4 separate regions of the Homo sapiens genome follow, and all the other regions are linked to region 4. The links are contacts of gene promoters, found by promoter capture Hi-C in blood cells and fetal thymus (Javierre and others, 2016). All regions are on one chromosome and are shown on one strand. The core of a region is centred on a gene start or on the middle of the fragment in contact, and the rest is flanking DNA. Distances in the headings are between cores, read along the strand shown. Region 1 overlaps NR1D2 (nuclear receptor subfamily 1 group D member 2). Region 2 overlaps RPL15 (ribosomal protein L15). Region 3 holds the start of DCP1A (decapping mRNA 1A). Region 4 holds the start of EPM2AIP1 (EPM2A interacting protein 1).

Region 1 (5,448 bases), core at 570-3,069, about 13 Mb before region 4:
GATTCAAAAGGTAGTGTGGAAATAACCTACAAAGAAACCACTGGATCCTTAACACACATTAAAAAATGAGGTGAATAATGGGTAGGGAGGATTAGTTACTTTGGTTTGAACCATTCTGTTGGAACTCTTCTAGTATAATGATGACAAAAAAATAATCATCAGCTTCTTACTCTGTGCCAGGCCTTTTACATGTGTTCCTCATGTTAATTCCATGAAGGAAGGTGCCGTTGCCACCATCTTAATGATGCGGGGCTAAGTAAATTGAAGCTAAATAACTTACTCAGGCAAGTAGTAGAGCCAGAATTTGAATCCACAAAATTTACTTGGGAACACAAACTGTTAACTACTGTGCTATAATGTACTTTAGCCTGCATAATATTTGAAGATTTATACGCAACTTGGTGGTCCTGTCTTCTTGAGGGTGAAGGAGATACTGCATGTGTATGGATCCCCACTCAATTTGCAGTGATATATGTAGGTTATAGCTAGTGGAAAAGGATAGTCATCTGCAGGGCCTCCCAGTTTCATCAGTCCTCTCTTTAGTCATGCTGGCTTATTTCCAGACATTAGATTACACCTTGACCTCCCTTCTCCAGTAATTTACATGGAGATAAAAATAATGTCTATTTTATAAAATAAGACCGATTTGGCTGGGCATGGTGGCTCATGCCTGTAATCCTAGCAATCTGGGAGGCTGAGATGGGCAGATCACCTGAGGTCAGGAGTTCGAGACCAGCCTGGCTAACATGTGAAACCCTGTCTCTACTAAAAATACAAAAATTAGCCGGGTGTGGTGGCGGGTGCCTGTAATCCCAGCTACTTGGGAGACTGAGGCAGGAGAATCGCTTGAACCGAGGAGGCGGAGGTGGCAGTGAGTCGAGATCACACCATTGCACTCCATCCTGGGTGACAGAGCGAAACTCCGTCTGAAAAAAAAAAACAACAAAAAACACACCATTTATTTTTGTGTCACCCTATTTAAAAAATGTCTCTTTTGATGATTTAAACAGTCTTCAATTCCCCACTTAGATATTGCAACCTTGGATGTGTTTGCCCCTATTGATTTCTGCCCTCTTTAGTATGATCCTCAGCAGTCACAATCATGTGTGTGAAACATTGCTCCTAATAACATAGGTGTTTCCCCAGTTGGCCTATAAGGCATTTTAGGGAAAGGACCATGCTGTTCTCTGGAGCCCTGACACCTAGGACACAATTGGAATTTTAGTGCTTCAGTTAGATCTACTCTACCACCCTTGGAGTAGAAATTATTTATAACACTTTTAAAATGAGGGAAACTAAAGCTTCTTGGTGATAAAATGTTTTGTTCTAAGTCACAAGGCAGAAAAGTACAGTCATGACTTGAAGTCAAACATAATCTCCAGGATGGTGGACAGAGGAAGTGTGAGGGTTTTGATGATGGACAAGTGTAGAAAATGGGTAAGAAGACCCCAATATATGCAGGAATATCAGTGCTTCCTAGCAGTACAAAATTGGATATTGACTTAAGGCTTGTCTGAAGTTGACCACTGGGTAAGCCCTAGCCTGGGAACCTGGCCCAGGTCCAGGGTCCCTTTCAACTGAAAATAGAGAAGACTGCTTCAGCTAATTTTAGCTCAGGGTTTCAAAGAGGTACATACTGCCTGTTTCTTGGAGGTGTTGGGACTTGCTGGTTTGGGGATTTTTACTCTTCTTACTTTATCATCAAAAACAGTGTATGAAAAAAGCACTTATGAATGCCATTTCATTTCAGTCTTGTAATAAGTGGCAGATATTCCAATTTTATAGAAGACCACTCAGGTTTAGAAAGATTGAAAGTGACTTGCTTGCTCAGGTCTTCTCACCAAATAAGTTTGTACTCTGGAATTGGACAACCTTGACTTTAAACTTTGGCCTGCCACTTAGTGGCTGACTTATCCTCTCTGAGCTCCTTGTTTAAAAAATGATTTGATGAAAGTTAATTCACAGAGTTCTTCTTGTGAGGATGAAATTGTGTCATTTTATTCCTGACATCCAGTAGGTACTTGGTGACTTGTAGTTTCACTTTCCTTTCTTCATTAGGTTGAGGAACTACTAGATGTACTCCTTTTCTTCTAAGAAATTAAAATTTAACCCATTTGGGTTGCTATCAGTCAGGTTCATAGATGGGTGTCTAGTAGCAAGAATAGATGCCAAGACAACTAAATCAATATTGAAGGTCTTGCTAGGAGAATGCAGCTACTTCTAGATGGGTCTTCTTTGATTTTCTGGTGCCTGGCACAGATGCTTGTTTTCTTAAGACAGGAATTGGATCTTCGCTGGATTGATAATAGCCCAGTAGTTTCTTTTAGGTTGGATATTGAAGCTTTTGCAAAGGAAATTGTTTTTTGGTTAATTAATTACGATACAGTCCATTGCCCCGTCAGTGCTTGCAACCAATTTTTAAGCCATCTGCATAGCTCTAATTTCTTTTCTTTTCTCTTTCTTTTTCTTTTTTTTTTTTTTTTTTTGAGATGGAGTTTTCACTCTTGTTGCCCAGGCTGGAGTGCAATGGTGCCATCTCGGCTCACCGCAACCTCCGCCTCCCGGGTTCAAGTGATTCTCCTGTCTCAGCCTCCTGAGGAGCTGGGATTACAGGCATGCGCCACCACACCTGGCTAATTTTGTATTTTTAGTAGAGATGGGGTTTCTCCATGTTGGTCAGGCTGGTCTTGGACTCCCGACCTCAGGTGATCCGCCTGCCTCGGCCTCCCAAAGTGCTGAGGTTACAGGCGTGAGCCACTGTGCCCGGCCAGCTCTAATTTCTAAAAGTTTATTTCTTAGCTAAGGTAGTCAGCAGATCTTGTGAACATAAATGACTGAAAATGGGGGCCCTAGGAAAGTCTTACTTCCAAGGAAAAACATCACTTTCTTATCTTTTATTTTCCTGAGATGTTAGATGTGAATTTAGTACTTAAGACACTATTTTAGAGAAGACAAATAGCTGTGAGATCTTCCTTTGGAATTTCATTGAGGACTAAGAATATTTGTCTTTGTAAAGTGTCCTATTGTGAGTGGAGACATCTGTGAAAAAGTAGCAGTGTGCTAATACCTGGAATTTTTAATGTGGACTTAAGATCTCTAAAGTTATATAAAGACAGCACAATGGTTTTATCCAGTAACATGACACTGGCTAGGTTTCTAGGTTAAGTTGGTTTCTCTTTGGATTCACAGGGTATTAATGATATTCTGGCGGTTGTATCGATGAAATCATCAATCTTTAAAACTATGGGCCAATTTGTGTTTGAATTCACTGATTGTAGCCATTTTGAAACTTCAATGTGCAAATAATTGCTTGGAGAGCTTGTTAAAATTGCACATTCCTGAGGATGTGTTCTCGTCTGGGCAGGGCCTTGGAAACATGTATTCTGAAAAAGCACCAGCTAGTTTTGAGGATATGTATTTTACATAATTTCTCTGGGTGATGAAAATAAACTCGAAGTTGGGAATCTTTCTTCTTGTGTTTGTAGTTTTGGAGTTTTTAGATTTTAGAATAAATGGTAGATGAAAACTACCTTGGTCACTTTGTCTTCCAGGGAGCACAGATGAAGTAGTTGGCTTGTGGCAGTGTTCTTCAAACTTGGATGTGCATCAGAATCACCAAGAGGGCTTATTAAAGTTTCTGATCCAGTAGATCTGGAGCGGAGCCTGATAATTTGCATTTCTAACAGATTCTGGGTGATACTGATGCCCCTAGTCCAGGGCCCACACTTTGAGATGGTTGGTTTGTAGTTAGGGACCATGTTGCAGGAAAAATATTAATTGCAGGATTAATTAAGGTGAGATGCACATAGCAAGAGAGCATATGGACAGTGGGTTTAACTGGGAAGAGCAGATTTGCACCTCTCACCTCATGATCGAGTCCAGGCATAGGCTTCATGAATAAAACAGTGGATGGAATTGTCTACGTTAGTGATATTTTTGTCTTAAAAATCAAGTGCATATAGTTGAATTTATGTATGTTAAATTTGTGTCTGGGCTGGGCACGGTGGCTCACACCTGTAATCTCAGCACTTTGGGAGGTGGAGGCGGGCGGATCATCTGAGGTCGGAAGTTCGTGACCAGCCTGGGCAACATGGTGAAACCCTGTCTCTACTAAAAAAAAAACAAAAACCAAAAACAAAAATTAACCAGGCGTGGTGGCGGGCGCCTGTATTCCCAGCTATTCAGGAGGCTGAAGGAGGAGAATCGCATGAACCCGGGAGGCGGAGGTTGCAGTGAGCTGAGGTTGTGCCACTGCACTCCAGCCTGGACAACAGAGTGAGACTCCATCTCAAAAAAAAAAAAAAAATCGTGTCTGATGAAAAACATTGTGTGTTTCTTGGCATAGTAGGCACCTGTTTTATCTTCCCTTCTGGGTTGCACTCAAACCCCTTGAGAGTTGTGGTTGTGCTTTCCTCCTCAGAGGGTTTGTTTCTTAGCCTCAATATATATAATTGGTGCTTAAAAACACATCTGATATCTACTACATGACAGACTAAAAGTGACTCTAAATTTCTCTGCCTGTTTTTTTTTTTCTTGCCTAAAGACGGCAATGTCTGTCTTTTTGGGATTGTTTTGGCCTCAGCATTTTGCTTTGTGGATTTTTGTTTAAAAATGATTGATAGGCCCGGTGCGGTGGCTCACACCTGTAATCCCAGCACTGGGAGGCCAAGGTGGGTGGATCACCTGAGGTCAGGAGTTCGAGACCAGTCTGACCAACATGGTGAAACCCCATCTCTACTAAAAAAAAAAATACAAAAATTGGCTGGGGGTGGTGGCATGTGACTGTAGTCCCAGCTATTCAGGAGGCTGAGACAGGAAAATTGCTTGGACCCAGGAGGTGGAGGTTGCTGTAAGTCGAGATTGTGACACTGCACTCCGGCCTGGGTGACAGAGTGAGACTCTGTCTCAAAAAAAAAAAAAAAAAAAAAAAAAAAAATGCCAGTTTTCAGAAGGGTTGTGGCGGTTATATAAAATTGGGAATCACATTTTGACAATAGCTCTGTGTAGAGGGAATTAGCTTCAGCCTTACTGTTATTCTGGTATAGCATGCATTCTTCTAGCATCTTTAACACCTATAAAGAGCGAGTCAGAAGAACAAGTAGTGAGTCTGGATTTCTTAAGAGCTGCTTAGAGATGAATGGCAGAATGGGGTAGAGAAGGGAGAGTATTGAACTGGGGATTGGTTAGTGGATAGCCACATATGTCTTCTGGGAACACCAAAACAGAAAGGTGTGGGAGCAAGGGCTGTGAAACGATCCCTGTTTTGAGATAATTTACCTTATCTACCATTCTAAATGTTACATCTGTTCTGGATTAACCTGTGCTTCTAGCCAAGTGTTGGGGGAGGCAAATGATAAATTCATTGTTTCTAGGATTGTGTCAGATAACTATAACAGGAGGCAAAGAAGAGACCAGAACCAGATTTCTTCATGGCCAGTTTGTTTGAGC
Region 2 (5,098 bases), core at 12-2,511, about 13 Mb before region 4:
ATATTTTTAAAGCTAAACGTTGCTGAGCTCTCAGTTGTATGGAAAAAGATAAGGTCCCCAAACCCTAAATTTTGTTACCCAGATATTAACATATTCCTGCCCTAGTCAGGAATGGAGTATTAAGAGGGAATGATGTGTTTCAGTCTATGTGTGTTGTTTTAGCAAGTCTACATTATCTCATTACACTTGTGATAGTCTAGGGAGAAATGCTTAGTAAATAACTTGAGTAGTAAAAGACTCTTGTCTGGTGGTGAACTAGAGTTGAGAATTAAAATTCTTTCTGACTTGCTGCTATAGGCAATGTGGGAGATTGACCTTGGGCCTTTTTTCCTATTCTAGGAGCGAGCTGGACGCCACTGTGGGGCTCTGAGAGTCCTGAATTCTTACTGGGTTGGTGAAGATTCCACATACAAATTTTTTGAGGTTATCCTCATTGATCCATTCCATAAAGCTATCAGAAGAAATCCTGACACCCAGTGGATCACCAAACCAGTCCACAAGCACAGGGAGATGCGTGGGCTGACATCTGCAGGCCGAAAGAGCCGTGGCCTTGGAAAGGGCCACAAGTTCCACCACACTATTGGTGGCTCTCGCCGGGCAGCTTGGAGAAGGCGCAATACTCTCCAGCTCCACCGTTACCGCTAATATAAGTAAAGTTTGTAAAATTCATACTTAATAAACAATTTAGGACAGTCATGTCTGCTTACAGGTGTTATTTGTCTGTTAAAACTAGTCTGCAGATGTTTCTTGAATGCTTTGTCAAATTAAGAAAGTTAAAGTGCAATAATGTTTGAAGACAATAAGTGGTGGTGTATCTTGTTTCTAATAAGATAAACTTTTTTGTCTTTGCTTTATCTTATTAGGGAGTTGTATGTCAGTGTATAAAACATACTGTGTGGTATAACAGGCTTAATAAATTCTTTAAAAGGAGAGAACTGAAACTAGCCCTGTAGATTTGTCTGGTGCATGTGATGAAACCTGCAGCTTTATCGGAGTGATGGCAATGCTCTGCTGGTTTATTTTCAAGTGGCTGCGTTTTTTTTAGTTTGGCAGGTGTAGACTTTTTAAGTTGGGCTTTAGAAAATCTGGGTTAGCCTGAAGAAAATTGCCTCAGCCTCCACAGTACCATTTTAAATTCACATAAAAGGTGAAAGCTCCTGGTTCAGTGCCATGGCTTCATGGCATTCAGTGATTAGTGGTAATGGTAAACACTGGTGTGTTTTGAAGTTGAATGTGCGATAAAATTATTAGCCTTAAGATTGGTAAGCTAGCAATGAATGCTAGGGTGGGAAGCTGGTGAGCCAGTGGCCATTAGATAAATACCTTTCAAGTGTGAGCTTAGACGTCAACCCTAAAATACTTAACCGTAATGCTAATTGTGATCATTATGAATCCCTTCAGTCACATTAGGGGGAAAGTAGTTGGCTATAAGTACGTCATTCTTAGTCCAGTCAGTCTTAAAAACATCTTGGGTTACCCACTCTGTCCACTCCCATAGGCTACAGAAAAAGTCACAAGCGCATGGTTTCCAACCATATGTGTTTTCTGCAGTTATTTCTCTTGTTCTGGCCAAACAACCCTAAAAATCCTTACCATTCCACAAAGTTGGACCATCACTTGTGCACCCACTTTGACTATGAGTATACCACCACATTGCATTTCTGTTTGCACCATGTCTTCCAGGAGACTAGACTACTGTTGTCCAGGGTCAATTTGAGTGTAAAGAAAATGTAGACAAGGAATTGCCCAATTTTAAATTCTGACTTTGCTGACTTAATTTAAATGCTCGTTCTGAACCAATTTTCTCCTATCTTCTCTAGGGGTTTCAAAAGACTCAGTTAATTGATTTCCAGGAAGTACTCATAGCAAGTTCATAAAAGTTCTTGAGACCTAAATTTCTTCACAAAAAAAGAAAAGATCTTAAGTCATACATTTTAATTGTGTAGAGGTTGTTCAACTGAAGGAATAAATGTCTATTAAACTAAAACAAATGGACCTTCTGTTATTTTTTGTCATCTTACAGTGCTAATGTACTTTAAAGCAAACCAAATGCCCTAACCAGCAAAAAGGCATCAAAATGTGATTATAGAAATAATATAATTTGAGATAGCATAAAATGTACTTATTCTCTCAGTTCTTTGATCATTGCATGAATTAGGTTTTTATCTAAAACTGTTCAGCTGGGTGTGGTGGCTCAGGCCTGTAATCCTGGCACTTTGGGAGACAAGCTGGAGGATTTGTTGAGGCCAGCCTGGGCAGCATAGTGAGACCTAAAAACAAAAAAAATCCTTAAACATGACTAATTTGGGAAGGAGAGAAAGGGTTCGGGCCAAAGGTCAGCATTGTCTCTACAAGAAAACCTTGTTCCTGTCCTTGCTACCCAACAGTTTTATCTCCACACAGTAGTCCAAGGGATCCTATTAAATTGATCATGGCACTCCCGTGCAAAAAAATCAAAAGTCCTCATGATAGCTTTCATGATCTTCCCACTTTATGTGTGACCTCATGTCCTACTGCAGTCCACACCCCAGGCTCCTTGCTGTTTGTTCTTCAAATACACCAAACACTTCCTAATGCCTTTATGATGGGAAAGCTTTACTCCAATATTAAGGGTCACTTTATTAGCTATACCCTGACCGCCCCACAAGCTGTTCCCATTTGCTTTACTATTTCTATATTGGCATGTAATTCACACAGCAACATTGATTATTGAGTTTTTTTTTTTTTTTTTTTTTTTCCAGATGGAGTCTCACTCTCACTCAGGTGGGAGTGCAGTGGGGCAATCACGGCTCACTGCAACCTCTGTCTCCCGGGTTTGAGCAATTCTTCTGCCTCGGCCTCCCAAATAGCCAGGACTACAGGCGCACACTGCCATGCCCAGCTAAGTTTTGTATTTTTAGTAGAGACTGGGTTTCACTATGTTGGCCAGGCTGGTCTCGAACTCCTGACCTCAAGTGATCCACCTGCCTTGGCCTCCCAAAGTGCTGGGATTACAGGCGTGAGCCACCACCCCCAGCCCAATTTTTATTTTTTGTACAGACAGGATCTCACTATGTTGCCCAGGTTGGTCTCAAACTACTGGCCTCAAGCAATCCTGCCTTGGCCTCCCAAAGTGCTGGAATTATAGGAATGAGCCACCACACCGGGCCCAAATTTACTTTAGTAATAACAACAATTGGCTGGGTGCGGTGGCTCACGCCTGCAATCCCAACACTTTCGGTAACCAAGGTGGGCTTGAGCTCATGAGTTAGAGAGCAGCCTGAGCAACGTGGTGAGAGCCCATCTCACAAAAAATAACAAATCAGCTGGGCATGGTGTTGCACGCCTGTAGTCTCCGAAATCACACCACTGCACTCCCATCTTGGGTGATAGAGCCAGAACTTGTCTCAAAAATAACAATTGGTTTCTTACAATCCCAAAAGGTGCAGTTACTAGTATTAATCCTTTTTTGCCAATGAGGAAACACAAAGATGAAGCAACTTGCTCAAAGTCATACAGTGACAGTCTGAATTCAAATCCTATACACTTAAAGTTTATTTGTTTTGTTTTGGTTTTTTTTGAGATGGAGTCTCACTGTGTCGCAAGGCTGGAGTGCAGTGGCACGATCTCAGCTCACTGCAACCCGGGTTCAAGCGATTCTCCTGCCTCAGCCTCCCGAGTAGCTGGGACTACAGGCACGCACCACCACACCCAGCTAATTTTTGTATTTTTAGTAGAGACGGTTTCACCATGTTGGCCAGGATGGTCTCGAGCTCCTGACCTCAGGTGATCCTCCCGCCTTGGCCTCCCAAAGTGCCGGGATTACAGGTGTCAGCCACTGCACGTGGCCAACTTAAAGTTTTTGATAGATAATACATTAACGTTAAAAATTCAAAAGATAAGTATAGGCTCTACAGTACAAACCCTTCTGCCTCCTAGTTCCTCTCCCTGGAGGCAAGGTGATCAGTTTAACAATATTTTTTTATTTTGAGACAGGGTCTCACTGTTGCCCAGGCTGGAGTGTAGTGGCGCGTTCACAACTTACTGTAGCCTCAACCTCCTGGCTCAAGCAATCCTCCCACCTCAGCCTGTCGAGTAGCTGGAACCACAGGTGCACACCACCATGCCAGGCTAATTTTTGTATTTTTTGTAGAGACAGGGTTTCACCATGTTGTTCAGGCTGGTCTCAAAGTCCTGGGCTCAAGCAATCTTCCTGTCTCTGCTTCCCAAAGTGCTGGGATTACAGATGTGGGCCACGGTGCCTGGCCTACATATGTATTTTTTCCTTTTCTTCCCCAAGTGGTAGGATATGATACACATTGTTGATTTTTTTGTTTAGTTATGTATCTCAGAGCTTATTCTTTATCAGCTCATGAGGAACTTCATTTTTTTTTTTTTTTTTGAGATGTAGTTTTGCTCTTATAGCCCAGGTTGGAGTACAGTAACACAATCTTGGCTCGCAGCAACTTCTGCCTCCCAGGTTCAAGCGATTCTCCTGCCTCAGCCTCCGAGTAGCTAGGATTACAGGTGCCTGCCACTACATCCAGCTATTTTTGTATTTTCAGTAGAGACGGGGTTTCACCATTTTGGCCAAGCTGGTCTCGAACTCCTGACCTCAGGTGATCCGCCCATCTCAGCCTCCCAAAGTAGTGGGATTACAGGCATGAGCAACCGTGCCCGGCTGGAACTTCATTCTTTTGGTATAACTGCATGGTATCCCATCATGTGGATGTACCATGATTCATTGGATGTGGACCCTCCTGATGGACATTTAAATTTCTTCCAATCTGTTGCTATTACAAAAAGAAAAATGTGTGCATACATCTTTATTCATCTGTAGAATAAATTCTTAGAAGTAGAATGGCAGAGTTAAAAATTGTATGTATATAATTTTTTATAGATATTGCCAAATTGTCTTCCATAAAAGTTGAACCAATTTTCACTACCACCAGCAAAGTAGGAGAGGACTTGTTTATCCACACCCTCTTTAATGTATGTAATCAAATTTTGGGATATCTGCCAGTCTGTTAGGGGGAAATGATACTCTTCTCTACTTTTATTTTGCATTCTGAGTGTGGCAGAGGCAAAGCTATGTGCATACCATAGCTTTTTCTCCCCC
Region 3 (5,683 bases), core at 288-2,787, about 16 Mb after region 4:
AGTCTATGTATTGTCTTTTCCCCAAATATATATCTTTCTTTTTCTTTCTAATATGGGGGTAGGAAGAGAGACGCAGGCATCCATTTTAGACTCAATCATTATTATTTTGAAATTGCTTTGCTAGGCTGGTAATATAAATTCTAGTTCAGTTTATTCTGAATCACAGAAAGGCTCAGAGAAAAGAAAGAACCTGGTTAAGATTTCACAGCTAGGGAAAGATGAAAACTTGAAGGGTACTAGCAGGACGGTTCCAAAGACAAATGTACAAGAGAATTGAACCGTTTCACATTGTTCACCACTAGACTGTTAAAAACAAATATACATATTTTAAAAACTTACCTTCGATATACGAATAAGGTCCCTTCTATATCAGTCTTCTCCTATGAAAGACAATGACTCAATTAGTTTTTTTTCCCCATAATCAGACCCCAAATAGTCCCCATGGAGAAGTAATGCTTCACGTTTAAGATCAACTTGTTTCATTTCATCTATTATAAAATTAACCACTTTTGAACAGGTAAAGTCTCCCTCTCATTCCACAAATTGTGGTTACCATTTCTAATGTATCCTTTCAGTGCATAAGCATATGCAATATTTAATCCAGCAACATATCTGTATCTGCAGTATTTTTCTTTTTTAATTAGTAAAGGAGAAAATCATAGAATAAACCTTCACTTTTTATAGCTAAAATATTTTAGCCAGATTTCTTAACTTTAAAGCTAAGGTCCTGTATACTGCAATTTCTTCTCTTTTAAGTTTATCCAAGTTAATTTTAAAAAAGGAAAGGAATGAAACTTTCTTATAGGATACTTTGTTTCATCACTAGGGAGTTTTCGTACATTTTGACAACTAGCAAATTTTGTGGTTAAGAATTACTACCAAACAAAATCAGCTTGTTATTTTTAGAACTTGAAGAATCTTGAATACTGAAAGTATACCCTGCCTCAGTGTAATTATTGGAGGCCTTTACCATAGTTCATTTTCTGTGACAAGAGTGTATTTAGGTTTTAAACACAGTTCAGTGTTTTTTAAAAAATAAATAAGCTTATTAGTCTGCAATTTACAGCCTACAATGGACCTAAATATTTTACTGTAATCAACGCATTATTAACATTTTAAATGTTAGTCATATATTGAATGTGTTGGGATTAAAAAATTTAGAAAATTGATCATCTCGATTTCTTCCAGAAGTACTACCCTAGCTTAAATATCATTATTTTCCTTCCTAAGGATTCAGAGGCTTTTTCTTACCTTTAAAATGTTAGGTTATTACTATAAGAAACTGGTAATCAACTGTCTTACAGTAAAAGAAAATTTGCCCACCAAAAAACATCATGCAAAGTTACAACTCACTGTAAAATAATAAAGAGGGAAAAGATTTTTGTCATGCTCTATGTGCCAGGATCCAAATAAACAGTAGCAGCTTATTTTTCAATTCAGGTTATTATAGCTTGTATTTCATATTTAAAACAGAACTCCACAATGTAAAATTTTAAAATATTGAAAGCCTTTGTGAAAAACTAGGAAAACTCTAGCCCCAAGTCTTCACCATTTGTCGGCAATCCATATTTCAAAATTTATATATAGGCCAAGAAAAGAAAAAAGATTCATAAAATTTCAAACTAAGGCAATGTCTAAAATAGCTACATTTAAAAAACAATCTACAATTTTATTCCTTGTGGCTTCCCATATCTCCTTCTCTTCCAGGAGGCAAAGATAAACAACGTGATTATAAAAACTCTTCATCTGAATTAACTGTTCATAAATGCCAAATGATTTTCGATAAATTACTGATAAATATAATCTATGCAACTGTATTATAGGGTAAACGACATACTACGGTCATCTTCCAGAGTTCTGTCAGTTTAAGGATTTCGTATCTTATTGAAATGTGAACTCCAGTCATTGGTGAATTCAATCCAACAAGCATTTACGTATTACTTTCTAAGTGTAAAGCCTGTAGCTGAATGAGTTAATTAGGAAGGGTCAATTACAAGAAAGTGGGAAATTATGCTTTTTAAACAACTAACAAAGCTTCAAGCAGGGGCTAACAAGAATCAGTGAACACACTGAATGTGACTTTTCGGACCCTCCCCAGTGCACGAAAGCCAGAAAGTACTGAGTCCGAGGGGAGCATTCAGAGATGACATCACCAGCATCATAGATGGAACAAAACACATTTACAGGGTCTCTCTTGTTTGTACAAAGGTCTTCGGGGATCCAGTGAACACGGAAGCCCTTTTCCTAAGTGCCTTGGAATCTTTTCCGAAACTCTGTGTAGTTCGATTAAAGCCGGACCCACCCACCCCCTCCTTCCAAGAATCGAAACTAATTGGATTTTAAACTTTAAACCCAAATGACCTCTGCGACAGGGGCTCTCATTTACGTTTGCCAGGGGGAGAGGAGGAGTGTTTATTTTATAGATAATGTACATATAATTTATCTAATAATCCGCAAAGCCTCAAACACAAGCTTTCAGGCACCCTTTTGACCCCACCGGTCTTATAACTCCCAATGTATCTGCAAAGAAGGCAGGTCGCCCACGTCCCCAGACCCGACGCCAAGGGACTGATCCTGCTCCAATCCTCCCCTCCACTGGCTTTTCCTTGGGATGTCTCGAGCCACTTCTCTCACTCCTATCCCCCAATCCCAAGCGGACCCGACACCCCTCAGGCTCTGGCTAGGCTCTTGGCCAGACCCTGGCCTCGTCTCCACCGCCCTGGCCTCTTAGTGTGCCCCCCCACCCCACAGTAACCCGCGCGGCCCCTTTAAGAGACGGCAGCGGCCGGGTGGCCGTCCTCAGGGCCAGGCGGCACTCACCCACTGGTTGGCCTTGGGGCAGAAGGTGTACAGAGCGACCTGGCCCGTGAGGTCTGCGATGCTGGTGATATAGGGGTCGTGTTGCTTCAGGGCCGCTAGGCTCATCTCCTGCCCAGCTCGACTCAGCGCCTCCATCTTGAATCCCAGAGCCTAGCCCCTCTGGTGGGGGCGGAGTCGCGGACAGGAAAGTGCCATCGAGGCAAAATTCCCCCATCTGCGTCAGTCCCCTCAACTTCCGCCTCTACGCGGGCCTCGCGGCAGGGCGGTACGTCAGCCATTCTGGTCCGCCGCGCGCACGCTCCGGGCGCCGGGTTCCGGCGTTGTCAGGGTCCGCGGCCCTACGATGTGGGCGGTGTCCAAGGCTGCGTAGTGGAGCTTGCAGGCTGGAGCTCCGGCGCTTCCTTTCCCTGAGCTAAAACGACTGGGTCCTGGGATCTGGCCTCTAGCTCGCCTGCCGAGCTCTTTCCAGGCAAAGGTTGGAGACCGCCGAAGTGCCGGCCTCGCGGTGCGCTGTCTGGCAGGGCCCGGGGCCACAGAAGGAAAACATGTCTGTGGAATGTGGAAATGCGGGACTCTACCGGGCCCGTTTAGAGAGCACAGAAAAACATGGGGGAAAGGGAGAGGCGAGAAGCCCAGAAAATTACCCTAGGTCTCAGATATGGATGTGTCGACCTAAAAGGAAGAAGACTCTGGGGCAAAATAAATGCAAGCAGAGAGTTTATTTGGGCCAAGCTTGAGGATTGCACCCCAGGAGCATAGATTCAAGTTGCCTTGAATATATACACTGATTAGCAGAAGGTACAAGTGGATTTTTTTTCTTTTTTTTTGAGACGGAGTTTCACTCTTGTCGCCCAGGCTGAAGTGCAGTGGCGCGATCTCGACTCACTGCAACCTCCGCCTCCAAGGTTCAAGCGATTCTCCTGTCTCAGCGTCCCCAGTAGCTGGGATTACATGGGCGCGCCACCATGCCCTGATAATTTTTGTGTTTATAGTAGAGACGGGGTTTCGCCATGTTGGCCAGGCTAGTCTCGAACTCCTGACCTCAGGCGATCCACCCGCCTCTGCCTCCCAAAGTGCTGAGATTACAGGCTTGAGCCACCGCGCCCGGCCCTTTTCTTTTTTTCTTTTTGAAACGGAGTCTCGCTCTTTTGCCCAGGCAGGAGTGCCGTGGCACAATCTCAAGCTCACTGCAACCTCTGCCTCCAGGGTTCAAGCGATTCTCCTGCCTCAGCCTCCCAATTAGGTGGGATTACAGGCGCCCGCCACCACACCTGGCTAATTTTTTCTTTTTCTTTTTCTTTTTTTTGAAATGGAGTTTCGCTCTGTCGCCCAGACTGGAGTGCCGTGGCGCGATCTCAGCTCACTGCAACTTCTGCCTCCTGGGTTCAAGCGATTCTCCTGCGTCAGCCTCCAGAGTAGCCGGGATTACGGGCGCCCGCCACCACGCCCAGCTAATTTTTGTATTTTTTTTAGTAGTGACGAGGTTTCACCACATTGGCCAGGCTGGTTTTGAACTCCTGACCTCAGGTGATCTGCCCTCCTTGGCCTCCCAAAGTGCTGGGATTACAGGCGTGAGCCACTGCGTCTGACCCACATAAATATTTTTGTCCAGCCCTGGGAAGAGTCCATGAAGGGTTTAATTTGTCTTGCTTCATTTAAAGCATTAAGCAGATCACTCATTTCATTGGTAAGTGTCTGTTGAGCATTTTAAAGCGTTTGAAAGAGTTAGGCACTAGCTAACAAGTAAAACAAATCATGGAGACTATAGGGAGTTCTATCCCCGCCAGACTTCTTAAAAAGCAACATTTCTTTCGTTAAAAAGGTCATGGAGGCTGGGCGTGGTGGCTCATGCCTGTAATCCCAGCACTTTGGGAGGCTAAGGTGGGAAGACCGCCTGAGGTCAGGAGTTTGAGACCAGCCTGGACAATATGGTGAAACCCCGTCTCTACTAAAAATACAAAAATTAGCCGGGCGTGGTGGCGCACGCCTATAGTCCCAGCTGCTTGGGAGGCTGAGACAGGAGAATCACTTGAACCCGGGAGGCGGAGGTTGCAGTGAGCCAAGGTGGTGCCATTGCACTCCAGCCTGGGCGACAGAGCAAGACTCAAAAAAAAAAAAAAAAAAAGGGTATGGTAGCTAGATGTGTGGGCTCACGCCTGTAATCCTAACACTCTGGAAGGCCGAGGAAGGTGGACCACTTGAGGTCAGGAGTTGGAGACCAGCCTGGCCAACATGGTGAAACCCCATCTATACTAAAAATACAAAAATTAGCTGGGCGTGGTGGCACATGCCTGTAATCTCAGCTACTCAAGAGGCTGAGGCATGAGAATAGCTTGAACCCAGGAGACGGAGGTTGCAGTGACACAAGATTGCACCACTACACTCCAGAGCTTGGGCAACAGAGGGAGAAATTCCATCCAAAAAAAAAAAGGGGGGGGCATGGTGGCATGTAACTGTAGTCCCAGCTATTTGGTAGGCTGAGGTGGGGATCACTTGAGGTCAGGAGTTCAAGACCAGCCTGAGCAACATAGCAAGACTACGTCTGGAAAGAAAAAAAAATTGACATCCCCAACAGAATTGAAAATTTTTGTAAGATAAAACCATATTTTCAAGAAAATAACACTAAATATTTGTATTGCCTATGATTTTATATCCCAGGACCACTGTTTTTTGTCATTGTGTTGATGAGAAGAGTCAAACTCTGTAAAATAGTTGAAGAAATTTATTCTGATCCAACTATGAGTGACCATAGCCCTTGACATAGCTCTCAGGAGATCCTGAGAACATGTGCCCAAGGTGATTGGGGCACAGCTTGGTTTTATACATTTTTGGGAGAGATGAGACATCAAATACATTTCAGGTG
Region 4 (5,019 bases), core at 1,697-4,196:
TCTACTTGTGTGCTATCTTACATATAGAATGTGTACGACAGTTCCAAATTTTAGAATAAATCCATTTCTAGCATCTAACAAAATCTGATACTGTATCATTTTAAAACAAAGTGTTTACTTTAGGCAGGATTTTTTAAAATAAAGCAGCAATACCCACGCAGATAAGACAAAAAAGCTAAAATATCTCACACCTCCTAATCCTGGAGTGCAATCTTTTTTCCTCATCGTTTTTGATAGGGCCAAACTTGTGTCTACAGTAAAAAAAAAAAAAAAAAGAATTACTAACTGGCAACCATTAAGATTCTATACTTACCATAGTCCTTTAATAGGCAAGCTGATAAAATAGCCCCCAGTTATTAAAAAAAAAATCCAAGGAAAACCCCCAATAATTAGTCTTATCTCCAAATTGCATGAAGTCTCCTATATCTGAAACTTAAAAATGATTCTAATGACTTCCTCTATCAGTAATGTGTTATCACTGAGGTGGGTGATGGGGAGGGAAGAGGGAAGAAATCTGTCAGTATTACCTTCGAACTCAGAAATGTTTAAAAAAAAGTCTCAAACATTTTGATGGTTAGACAAAACACCTCCACTGTTATGTATGGGCTTCCTTTTTGGAAACTTATGAACTTGCTATGTGAGCTTCTGCAAATTGGTTCAAAAGCACATTTAAGGAGTTGATAATTTAAGACTATATGAATCAGAATTTTAACACTCCATTAAAATAAGAGCTGAAATTTTTGGCATTTATCTTCAGAACACCTAAAAAACAGACTGCAAATTCAACTCACATTAATACTAAATCTCTTTAAAATTAACTATATCATAAAAGACAATGACTTTGTCACTAAACTAAGTTTTAAAAAAGGTGGCATTCTCATGTTTCAGTCCCATGCTGCCATTTGAGATGAAAAAAAAGGCAACTGTCAGAATTTTAATTGTGATCAGTTTGGACGGCTGGTACTTGGTACTTTCTCACAATCCAAATTAGTAAACTTGAAAACTCAAACCAATTTTTGCTTTTAGAATTAAATTCTTGTTGAGTTTTTCAATCTTGTACTACAAAGCCTTATGGATTAGATTCATTTCTTTCTCTCACAAGGTCATCCCAACCGGGCTCCATTTCAGTTGTGGCAACCCGAAACAGGGCTTGGAGATGCTCATCTGTTAATGGCTGACTCAAAGTGTGTTGGTTTCGAGTCAAATATGAAAAAGCCTTTTCACAGATTTGGTTACTATCAAACAAGGATGCCACCTTACAGGCAACCCCTTTGATAATTGGGTAGGATTCAGCAGACAATCCAGCATAAAACTGCCCCAAGTCTTTGATTCTGTATTCATTCCAAAGATTAGTGTTTGCCTGAAGTTTTGTTAGCTCCACCCTCACTGAAATAGGTGCATATTCAGGTTTAAAGTTAAATGGATTTGAAAAAAGTTCTAAGTCCTTTTTAATGAACCTGAGGTCCTTAAAATGTCTCTCAAATTCTTTTTGGAGACGACAGATCACCATTTGATACCTATCAGGATCAAATATTTTTTCATCTTCCTTATTTTGCTGTTTTAGCTCATCAACAACTTCTCTGAGGGCAGGAAAGTCTGTTAGATTTTTTTCCTCAATATGTCTTTGAAATAAATTCAGCTTAACTTCGAAAGTACAAATATGGTCAAAGGCAGCAGCAGCAAAGACTTTACTAACTCGTAATTCTTCACTGAGTTCTCGAAGGTGTTCCATAATGTCCACCAAGAAGCCAAAGTCACAAAGCCATTGTTTGTCTGAGAAGTGGACTGTTGTTGCCCCTACTGAAACCAAGAACGCTTCCATTTCTTTTCTTAGAGAGAATATTAGTTTTAAAGTTTTCCCTCTCCTAAGCCAATTGTTCAGACATCGTCCATTAACCCTTTCACCATGCTCTGATTCAGATTCCGTTAGTAAAGTCTGAAATTCAGGTCGCCTAACGCCTCTGGTCTTAATCAAAACTATCCATTCGGATATGGTATTTATGATCTGATTAACATCTACATCATAGGAGCTCAACAGTTCCAAGTGAAGAAATCCTGAATAATGAATGACATTCCAACAGTTGGGGCTTACGGCCTTTTCTCTCATGTATGAGACGAGTCCTGAGTTCTCACCAATCATCCTCAAAGTATGGGTCGTGGTCAGTCCAACCATTCTCTGCAAGCTAAGCCCTGCTGTCTGCAGGGACTCTAGGATTGCCGACATGAGCGCACCAACACTGAAATGATGAGTCAGGTTGATTATGGTCAGAAGATCTTCTTGCACCTCCAACTCAGGGCCTACACCGCGGATAAAGACCAGGAGGTAGTTCTCATAGGCCACAAAAGCCTGGTCGTCCAAGGCAAGAGAATAGGCTTTAAAGTCCCTGGCTCGGTTAAAAAGCTGGTTGCGTAGATTCCTGTCAATGCTCAGGATCCTCTGCCTTGTGATATCTGGAGATAAGTCAACGCCTTGCAGGACGCTTACATGCTCGGGCAGTACCTCTCTCAGCAACACCTCCATGCACTGGTATACAAAGTCCCCCTCACCCCAGCCGCGACCCTTCAAGGCCAAGAGGCGGCAGAGCCCGAGGCCTGCACGAGCAGCTCTCTCTTCAGGAGTGAAGGAGGCCACGGGCAAGTCGCCCTGACGCAGACGCTCCACCAGGGCCGCGCGCTCGCCGTCCGCCACATACCGCTCGTAGTATTCGTGCTCAGCCTCGTAGTGGCGCCTGACGTCGCGTTCGCGGGTAGCTACGATGAGGCGGCGACAGACCAGGCACAGGGCCCCATCGCCCTCCGGAGGCTCCACCACCAAATAACGCTGGGTCCACTCGGGCCGGAAAACTAGAGCCTCGTCGACTTCCATCTTGCTTCTTTTGGGCGTCATCCACATTCTGCGGGAGGCCACAAGAGCAGGGCCAACGTTAGAAAGGCCGCAAGGGGAGAGGAGGAGCCTGAGAAGCGCCAAGCACCTCCTCCGCTCTGCGCCAGATCACCTCAGCAGAGGCACACAAGCCCGGTTCCGGCATCTCTGCTCCTATTGGCTGGATATTTCGTATTCCCCGAGCTCCTAAAAACGAACCAATAGGAAGAGCGGACAGCGATCTCTAACGCGCAAGCGCATATCCTTCTAGGTAGCGGGCAGTAGCCGCTTCAGGGAGGGACGAAGAGACCCAGCAACCCACAGAGTTGAGAAATTTGACTGGCATTCAAGCTGTCCAATCAATAGCTGCCGCTGAAGGGTGGGGCTGGATGGCGTAAGCTACAGCTGAAGGAAGAACGTGAGCACGAGGCACTGAGGTGATTGGCTGAAGGCACTTCCGTTGAGCATCTAGACGTTTCCTTGGCTCTTCTGGCGCCAAAATGTCGTTCGTGGCAGGGGTTATTCGGCGGCTGGACGAGACAGTGGTGAACCGCATCGCGGCGGGGGAAGTTATCCAGCGGCCAGCTAATGCTATCAAAGAGATGATTGAGAACTGGTACGGAGGGAGTCGAGCCGGGCTCACTTAAGGGCTACGACTTAACGGGCCGCGTCACTCAATGGCGCGGACACGCCTCTTTGCCCGGGCAGAGGCATGTACAGCGCATGCCCACAACGGCGGAGGCCGCCGGGTTCCCTGACGTGCCAGTCAGGCCTTCTCCTTTTCCGCAGACCGTGTGTTTCTTTACCGCTCTCCCCCGAGACCTTTTAAGGGTTGTTTGGAGTGTAAGTGGAGGAATATACGTAGTGTTGTCTTAATGGTACCGTTAACTAAGTAAGGAAGCCACTTAATTTAAAATTATGTATGCAGAACATGCGAAGTTAAAAGATGTATAAAAGCTTAAGATGGGGAGAAAAACCTTTTTTCAGAGGGTACTGTGTTACTGTTTTCTTGCTTTTCATTCATTCCAGAAATCATCTGTTCACATCCAAAGGCACAATTCATTTTGAGTTTCTTTCAAAACAAATCGTTTGTAGTTTTAGGACAGGCTGATGCACTTTGGGCTTGACTTCTGATTACCCTATTGTTAAATTAGTGACCCCTCTTAGTGTTTTCCTGTCCTTTATTTCGGAGGACGCACTTCGAAGATACCAGATTTTATGGGTCATCCTTGGATTTTGAAGCTTATAACTGTGACAAAAAATGTGAAGGGAAGAGATTTGAAACATGTGGAAGGAAAAGTGAGTGCAGACTATAAACTTCCAAAAAGACAAGCCCAAAATACACCTAAACGTTATGTCAGATTATTTTGTTAAAATCAGTTGTTAGTGACGTCCGTACGTTAATAGAAAAAAGAATGCTTCAGTTTGGAGTGGTAGGTTTCTAGAGGGATTTATTGTGAAAGTATAAACTATTCAGGGCAATGGGACTGAGAGAACAGTGGGTAGAAAGGACCACTGAAGGAAAGGAAGAGAATTGGAAGGTAGATGAAAGAAGGAGCAAGAACCTGGGGATGTTTTTTCCTTTTCACTTGTAATAGTAGTAACAGAAGCAATGGCAGACTGGCTTTTGTTTCTACTGTGTTAGAATGAATTGACAGGACAACTGGGCCTATTATTGTACTGTGCCAGAATACTGTAAAACAAAACTAAACATACTAGCTTGGTGGCTTGTAATTAATTACTTAAGTGGAGATTTTTATTTTTTTTTTATTTTTTTTTTAGACGGAGTCTCACTTTGTCACCCAGGCTGGAGTGCAGTGGCGCGATCTCAGCTGACTGCAACCTCCTCCTCACAGGTTCAAGGGAGATTCTCCTGCCTCAGCCTCCCGAGTAGCTAGGACTATAGGCATGTGCCACCACACCTGGCTAATTTTGTATTTTTAGTAGAGATGGGATTTCTCCATGTTGGTCAGGCTGGTGTCAAAACTCTCGATCTCAGGTGAACCGCCTGCCTCAGCCTTCCAAAGTGCTGGGATTACAGGCGTGAGCCACCGCGCCCTGCAGTTTTTTGTATTTTTAATAGAGACAGGGTTTCACCATGTTAGCCAGGATGGTCTCGATTTCCTGACCTCAGGTGATCTGCCCGCTTTGGCCTC

What was found. The method cuts DNA at HindIII sites, captures the fragments that hold promoters and counts their contacts. A CHiCAGO score of 5 or more calls a contact.
Region 1: a fragment that was not itself captured here is called in contact with the fragment with the promoter of EPM2AIP1 in region 4 in 4 of 17 cell types (naive CD8 T cells, total CD8 T cells, total CD4 T cells and 1 more); the score reaches 9.1 in naive CD8 T cells.
Region 2: a fragment that was not itself captured here is called in contact with the fragment with the promoter of EPM2AIP1 in region 4 in 2 of 17 cell types (naive CD8 T cells and non-activated CD4 T cells); the score reaches 12.6 in naive CD8 T cells.
Region 3: a contact is called between a fragment that was not itself captured here and the fragment with the promoter of EPM2AIP1 in region 4, in 1 of 17 cell types (naive CD4 T cells). The highest score is 7.6, in naive CD4 T cells.

The regions. Positions count from the first base shown.
Region 1 is chr3:23,948,436-23,953,883 of GRCh38, forward strand. The region is part of intron 1 of NR1D2 (nuclear receptor subfamily 1 group D member 2); the gene reads left to right. Among named protein-coding and RNA genes, the nearest start is that of NR1D2, 5.9 kb to the left of the region's middle. RefSeq lists a silencer at 303-597. The HindIII fragment of the contact is 1,040 bases long and covers 1,300-2,339 here.
Region 2 is chr3:23,918,857-23,923,954 of GRCh38, forward strand. RPL15 (ribosomal protein L15) reads left to right here. Exons shown (of 4, transcript NM_002948.5): 4 at 340-2,133. The coding sequence ends at 645. It also overlaps a transcript of NKIRAS1 not described here. Among named protein-coding and RNA genes, the nearest start is that of RPL15, 4.3 kb to the left of the region's middle. The HindIII fragment of the contact is 2,659 bases long and covers 1-2,591 here.
Region 3 is chr3:53,344,563-53,350,245 of GRCh38, forward strand. It overlaps DCP1A (decapping mRNA 1A), which reads right to left and starts at 2,981. Exons shown (of 10, transcript NM_018403.7): 1 at 2,821-2,981; 2 at 340-380. The coding sequence starts at 2,955. RefSeq lists enhancers at 1,989-2,579, 2,580-3,170, 2,706-3,475. The HindIII fragment of the contact is 990 bases long and covers 1,043-2,032 here.
Region 4 is chr3:36,990,185-36,995,203 of GRCh38, forward strand. EPM2AIP1 (EPM2A interacting protein 1) reads right to left here and starts at 2,947. Exons shown (of 1, transcript NM_014805.4): 1 at 1-2,947. The coding sequence starts at 2,893. The coding sequence ends at 1,070. It overlaps MLH1 (mutL homolog 1), which reads left to right and starts at 3,334. Exons shown (of 19, transcript NM_000249.4): 1 at 3,334-3,479. The coding sequence starts at 3,364. RefSeq lists a silencer at 1,062-1,111 and enhancers at 2,118-2,197, 2,228-2,547, 2,668-3,017, 3,388-3,607, 3,524-4,035. The HindIII fragment of the contact is 4,668 bases long and covers 1-3,818 here.